2 separate regions of the Homo sapiens genome follow, and region 2 is linked to region 1. Evidence: promoter capture Hi-C in human tissues and cell types (Jung and others, 2019). All regions are on one chromosome and are shown on one strand. The core of a region is centred on a gene start or on the middle of the fragment in contact, and the rest is flanking DNA. Distances in the headings are between cores, read along the strand shown.

What was found. The method cuts DNA at HindIII sites, captures the fragments that hold promoters and counts their contacts. A contact is called where the count stands out against the background at its distance.
Region 2: a contact is called between a fragment that was not itself captured here and the fragment with the promoter of PSMD6 in region 1, in 1 of the 25 tissues and cell types used here (IMR-90 fibroblasts).

The regions. Positions count from the first base shown.
Region 1 is chr3:64,022,106-64,025,759 of GRCh38, forward strand. PSMD6 (proteasome 26S subunit, non-ATPase 6) reads right to left here and starts at 1,389. Exons shown (of 8, transcript NM_014814.3): 1 at 1,170-1,389; 2 at 213-418. The coding sequence starts at 1,314. LOC105377121 (a long non-coding RNA gene) reads left to right here and starts at 1,970. Exons shown (of 3, transcript XR_940906.3): 1 at 1,970-2,046; 2 at 2,520-2,637. RefSeq lists enhancers at 691-1,313, 998-1,347, 1,314-1,935 and a silencer at 1,498-1,597. The HindIII fragment of the contact is 10,487 bases long and covers 1-3,654 here.
Region 2 is chr3:64,259,519-64,263,084 of GRCh38, forward strand. It overlaps a transcript of PRICKLE2 not described here. Among named protein-coding and RNA genes, the nearest start is that of PRICKLE2, 36 kb to the left of the region's middle. The HindIII fragment of the contact is 3,565 bases long and covers 1-3,165 here.

The sequences.
Region 1 (3,654 bases), core at 139-2,638:
ATACAGCCCTAGCTGCTGTTTGGGGAAATGACAAGGCATTTCATGGAGACGACTTTTTCATCTTTACATTGATTCACCAGTACAAGCAAGCATGATTACCTTTATACTTTTTCTAAAACGAAGTTAATTTTTTTAATGAGAAACGATTACCTGGAATAGTCTCCAATTTTAGCCTATACTAACTACAGAGAGGGAAAACCATCTCTACTCACTTTGTCACCTATCCGGCAGAGGTACTCGGCCTTTGCCATCATTGCATCGCGAATTTCGCTCTCTCCTAGATTCTTCTCTGCATCTTCCAGCTCCTCATCCAAACGCTTCAACTCATCTTCATTTGCCTTCTTCATTTTATTGAGTAGGTCCACGTCTATCTGCCAGTCGAGGGATTTGCACAAGGCTTCATAGTAAGGAGCCATGTCTAACATGCAAAAAGAGGGATGTGTGAGTGGGGACACTTGTGCCCTCAAGTCAAAGTCTGCCCACGTATTTCACCCCCCGCCCCGCCACAAGTCATCCACCAGTCTCTTCCCCACTAACAGGAAGGCATGCGATGGCGCTTAATAATCGGCTTGGCAAAACATAAACGTATGCTGGTGGGAGGTTTGCGTGACGGCCAATCCTGGCAATGCCAACCTCTACTAGGGCTGGAGGGAGGGCAATCCTCGGTTTGCTCTTGCCGGATTCTGTTCCAAAAGTCTTCAAACAGGGAAAGACTTTTTATACACACATACTCACATACATATGTTCAAACATACACATTCACTACAGAAGGGCCAGAAAGAACCGAACCCAAATTTCCCTTCCACAGGCAAGCTGAACTCTCCCACAGGAATACCCCGCGCCCGGGAGCAGTCCCCACTGACAGAAAGTCACGGGGCCTTTACTCTGTGCCTAGCACAGGGGTAAATATTAATGCCTCACGATTCTCCCCCAAGCTGCCCTTACAGGGGAAGGCGGCACAGAGAGATGCAGACCCCGCTGAGGCAAGTCGAGGTCCCCCAGGGTATCCCCAAACCAAAGCAAAACCCTAAGGGCCGGAGAAGCCAGGCCTGGTCTCTGAGACCCCGTCAGAGGGGTCTGGAGCTCCATCAAAAAAAGTCCCCGCAGGCTCCGGAACGCGGGGACGGCCCAGGCCTAGGCCGCTGACTCGGCGCTCGTGCGGGCCTCACTGTTATCGCGGACGGCCGCCATCAGCTCGTCGCGCACGGCAGCGTCTCCGCGGTGCTCGGGCAGGCTGAGCAGGAAGCGCAGCTGCGCGATACGCAAGTCGGGGTTCTTGGGCAGACCCTCCTCCTCCAGGTTCTCCAGCGGCATCGCGGCGAAGGGGACAGCGGCTGACAGGACACAACTTGGTTACGACCGGCTGCGGCAGCGGAAGCGGGAGGAGTCGGCGAATACGCCCGGCCGCCTGCGGCCCGGCTTCCGGTCCCGTCTCCGCCGGCAGCGTCCTCTGCTGGACACCTCCGGGAACGCCTCACCCGGCCTGGGCGCCTGCGCCCCTGTGTGGTCACGGGGGCTTTTCCACCCTCAAGGCCCCCTGCGGAGTCCCAGAGTGGGTGCAGCCCAACTCAAAAGCCCAATTTCTTGAATCTCTTTCTCACTCCCTTTTTAGCTATTTTACTTTCCGTTTGTAACTGATGGGAGCTTAAAATTTTTTGAAAACTGAAAATGTAATAACAGCATTAATAAAAACAATCACCATAGTTTGTCGAGTCGTTACTCTCATTCATCTTATTAAAATCATCTTCATGCTGCGAGGTAGTACTATTAGCCTATTTAGTAGGTAAGACAAATGAGGCACAAAGAGGTTAGGGAAACAGACCAACCAAGGTCATGTAACAGCCATGTCGCAAGGCCTAAATGAAAACCCCTATCTAGAACTCTAAAATCCACATTCTTTCTGCGGTTTTAAGAAGAAAAAAAAACTGCACCCAGGATTCTACGTCATAGTACAACAGCATCATCGTTTTGTTTACACATAAATTAAATCATTACATGCCTGCATTTTCAGCTTCCTTTTGTTCACATTGCTACAGATCTTCAGAGGTGGTAATCTTTACATTAAATTCCTTTTTTTTTTGAAACGGAGTCTTGCCCTGTCACCCAGGCTGGAGTGCAGTGGCACAATCTTGGCTCACTGCAACCTCTGCCTCCCAGCTTCAATCGATTCTCCTGCCTCAGCCTCCCAAGTAGCTGGGATTACAGGCCTGCACCACCATGCCGGGCTAATTTTTGTATTTTTAGTAGAGACGGGGTTTCACCATGTTGGCCAGGCTGGTCTTGACCTTCTGACCTCAAGTGATTCCCCCGCCTCAGTCGTCCAAAGTGCTGGGATTACAGGTGTGGGCCACCATGCCTGGCCTAAATTCCATCTAATGGATTTACCATAATTTACTTTCACTCTTCCCTCTGTTAGAGGTGTCTTTAGGTTGACCAGAGTTTTTACTTACCTAATATAAAAACTTGGATGAAGACTTTGGATGTCTAGATCACTTCATGTTTTGCATCTTTTTCCTTAGCATAAAATCCCATGAAGGAATAACGGACAAAGGGAAGAAGGATTTTGTGACTTGGGGATATTTAATGTTAAATGGTTTTCCAAAAGAGCTGAACCAGTTTACACAGCTGCTGAAACAGGTGAGACTGCCACATCTCACAGGCAGTAGGCATCATCACATAATTTAAATCTATTATTTGTTTCTATAAAAATGAAACAAGCATTTTGAAGACAACTCAAATGATAGAGAAAATATGAAGAGTAAAAAAAAAATACTATTAAATAGCTCTCCACCACTGCTAAACTTTTGGTAAAAAACTTTCTAAAATTCTTTCATTTAGTCATTCAACAAACATGATTGCATGGTTACAAAGTACCAGGCACTGTCTTAGGCCTCAAGGACTCAGCAGTGAAGAGCACAAAGCCCTGTCTTTGGAACTTACATTCCAGAGAAGCATAGCTTCTTTAAAACTCATCTGGGTATATTAACATGATCATTCTATACTCGCACATTTTAAACTGTGTTTTATTCATTCTACCATGTATTGTGGATATCTTGGATGACAATGGATTGACCATATAGGATTCCATTATATTTATTTCTGTTTGTTTGTTATTTTTGAGACGGATCTCACTCTGTTTGAGACGGATCTCAGGCTGGAGTACAGTGGGGTGATCTTGGCTCACTGCAACCTCCATCTCCCGGGTTCAAGCGATTCTCCTGCCTTGGCCTCCTGAGTAGCTAGGATTACAGGCACGTGCCACCAAGCCTGGCTAATTTTTGTATTTTTAGTAGAGACGGGGTTTCACCATATTGGCCAGGCTGGTCTCGAATTCCTGACCTCAGGAGATCCGCCCACCTCAGCCTCCCAAAATGCTGGGATTACAGGTGTGAGCCACCACACCCGGCCCATTATATTTCTATACCAACTTTTTCTTCATCAGTCCTTAAGTGCTGGTTGATTTGGGTTATTTTTGTTTTTTTCAATCTTATTAATATTACAGTGTCACTTATCCGTGTACATATATATTTTCACACTTAAATAGTTATTTCTCAATCTAAATCTCTAGACGTGCAATTGCTGAATAAGAGGGCATTAATATTTTATATTTTGATGTATTCTGTAAGTATTTTATGAATTATTTTCCACAAATGA
Region 2 (3,566 bases), core at 133-2,632, 240 kb after region 1:
TTGCAAAATGGCCTCCCAAATATATGTCCATGTCCTGATCCCCAGAACCTGAAAATCATAACATATTTGAAGAAGAAGCCCTTGCAGATATAATTAAATTGAAGGTTTTGAAAGGAAGAGATTATGAGATTATGTAGATTATACAAGTGGGCTCTAGATGTCACCTCAAGTATCCTTAGAGAGGCAGAGGGAAATTTGACACATGCACAGAGGGGAAAGCAATGTGAAGATGGAGGCAGCTACTGGAGTGATGCGGCTGTAACCATGGAAAGCCAAGGATGGATTGTTGGCAGCCACAAGAAGCCGGGACAGACTCTCTCCCAGAGACAGCCAACACCCTGACTTTCAAACTTCTGGCTTCCAGAACAGTAAGAGAATAAATTTCTGTGGTTTTAAGCCACCAAGATTGTGGTAATTTGGTACAGCAGCCCTAGGAAATGAACACTCTCCCTAAGCATAACACAGCAGCATCTAAAGAGAGTGTTCTACAAAATGGCAACAGGTGTCCTTGAAAAACACGCCAGAATCACCAGGTTTGGAAAACAATGTTAAGTGGGTTTCTTTATGATTGGACTTCTCAGGCCCTATGTCATGCTTATTGTCCCTTATGAATCTTTGAGAAGGAGATATGGTACCATAGACTTTCCCAAACTTGACCAGCCTCAGAACTCTCTTGTGAGGCTCCCCTGGCACATTCTCAGGAAGTGCTGCAGTACACCACACTGAACGCACTAACGGGACCCAAGAGGGAACAAAGGCCTGAAAAGCTAAGAGTTATCACTTTGCCAAGCTCATGATTATTCTTCTAAAGCCCCCTAACACAGTGCAGCAGCTACGAGGGCAAGAGTTGCACTAGATAATCTCCATGGTTCATTCCAAATCTAACATTCTCTAATTCTTTATGTACAACAACAGTTCTTGCCCATGGCAGACACTGCTAATCAATCGCAGCACTATTTCCCTAAGCCCTGAAGGGGCCCCTTTAATTCTTTTTAACCAGAGCTGCAGGCAAATAAAACCTCTGTGCTATTCCTGTCTTAGTAACTCAATGAACAGTCCAAATAAATAAACCATGGCTTATGGGTTTTCAGAAATGCCTGCATTACTCTCCTCTCGTCCGGGGAAGGACATCCTCTTCCCTGCCAATATCTGTTGATGTTTTTTTCCACTTTTAGAATACGCAACCCTTTGCTCTGATTTTTAAATTAGTACTCCACCAATAACATTCAGTGAGAGGTTGTGGCTTTTGGGGCCAGAGAGAAGAGCAAGTCTGGGGCACTAAACATACAGTTCAACCTTTGTTCCCTGGGAAAGATCAGCTCTGACAGATTAAAAAATATATATGTTTACTGCTTTCTGAGTTCCAAAGCCATTTGTGGGAGTTGTAGTAGATCTTAAAAACTTTTGGATCCCAAATCAATTCCCAGGACAGCTGCATCTGATCAGACTTCCTAGGCAGGAGAGTTCAGAAGCTTGGGGTCTTCAGAGAAAACCATTAGCTAGGGTTGCAATTTTTAAAAGGTGATGAGACACTCATGCCTCACTTGTACAGAGTGCTGAAATAATGTCTCACTCCAAGGGGTTTACAGACCTCCACAAGGGGCAACTATAATTGATCTGGTTTACAATTAATACAGAAAAAGAAGGCACAGAAATGTGAAGTGTATGGACTTAGCAGCATTGGGAAGCACATTAATCTCTACAACCCCCAGGAAGTAAGAGGGAGATGAGGAAAGGAGGAGAGTAATAAAAATAACTTAAAAATTTTTAATTTCCTAATAATTTTCTTGCAGTGTTAGACACTGGCCCAGGTATCAGTTAATCAGTCAGTCAAAATTTGTTTAGGGAGCCCTCCTAGAAGGAAGGTACTGTCACTGAAGATGGGATTTAAATGATGCAATCCTTGCCTTTAAGGGACAAGAAGGGACAGGGACAGGCTTGTCATATTGAAAATAAAATATTTTGGATCTTGGAAAGTGCTTTGGAGAAAAGTTGGTAAGATAATGTGGCCAAGAAAAATGTGGGCTGTGGAGTGTAGTCATGGAGCAAGGCTAGGCAGGAAGTTCTCTTGACAGAAGGACATTTAAGCTAAGATCTCAATGGTGAGAAGCTCCTAGCCAGGCAAAGATCTATGGGAAGAGCATTCCAAGCAGAAAGAACAGCAAGCACAAAGGCCCAGAGGTAGGCAGAAACTTGGGCTGGCCTGTGACTGAAGCACGGGTGCCAGTAGCCAGGTAGGAAGATGCCCTTGAGAGGTAGGCACGGGCTAGAACTTGTTAAGGTGGGAGAGTCTCACAGGTCACGGCAAAGTGTTTGGGTTTTGTCCTTATTGCAATGAGAAGCTGTCTGAAGGTGTTAAACAGGGTCATGTTATGATGTGATTTAAGCTTCAGAACCACTAGGTGTTTGGGAAGGTTGTCAAGTAATCAAGGTGAAAAATGATGGCAGCATGGACTAAAGTTGGACCTGTGGAGGTTTGAGATATGTATCTTTTCTATCATATTTTTTACAGAGGTGTGATTTACATACAGCAAAATCCATAGACCTTATATGTAGAGTCTCATCAATTTTGAAAAATGCCTATATCCATGTAACGCACACTCTATCAAGATATCAAACATTTTCAGCACCCCAGGAAGTTACCTCAAGCTCCTTTCTAGTCAGTCCTCCCTCCCTCTCACCCTCACCTGCTACAATTTGGGCTATTTTTTTGAAGTAGAACTGAAAGGACTTATTCCCATTGGATAGGATATGGGGAGAGGGTAAGAGAAAGAGAACAATCAAAGGTGCCAAAAGTTTTTAGCTCAAGCAACTGGGTAGCTGGAGGTGCCATTTGTTGACACAGTCAAGGCTTAAGGAAAGGAAAAAGTTAGCGCTATGTTTTGACACAGCAAGTCTGAGAAGCCGATTGGACATCTAATGAAGATGCTGAGAAGAGATGTGTATCTAAGTCTGGAGCTCAGGAGAGAGGTCCAGGCTGGAGATGTGACTCCACTAGTCAAGAGTCCAGTGTAACAAGAAGCCATGGGCTGGATGGCGTCAACAAGGGAGCAATAAAGATGAAAAAGACATGAGCAAGCAGGAAGGAGGCAGGAGCGGCTGACCTAAAAAAAAAAATTAGAAGAGGAGAAAAGAGCAGCAAAGGAAATTGGGAGGTAGGAGGAAGATAAAGTAAGAGGGAGACAGAAAGTTATAGAAGGAAGCAAGAGGAGGGAATGATCCACTGGGACAAACCCTGCTGACAGGCAGAGGGTGACCTTGACATCTCTTAACATATTTAACCCTCCCTAAAACTCCATAGGGTAGGTGTCCCAATTATTTCCATTTTGCAGACAAGGAAACTGAGGTTCAGAGATGTAAATGACTTGTCCCATTGCTAATAAGTGGTGGAGCCACCGTTTTGAAGTTTAACAGCTTCCCCCAAGTGTGTTCTGTGGCACATTAAGAGGTGAGGCTGAAAGGGGGTTCCAGGGTCACATTAGCACAGAACATGCAACATCAAGCCTCAATGGGTTTCTCTACTCCAGGCCTTCTCATAGCCTTTGAATTGTGATGGCTCAAGAGGG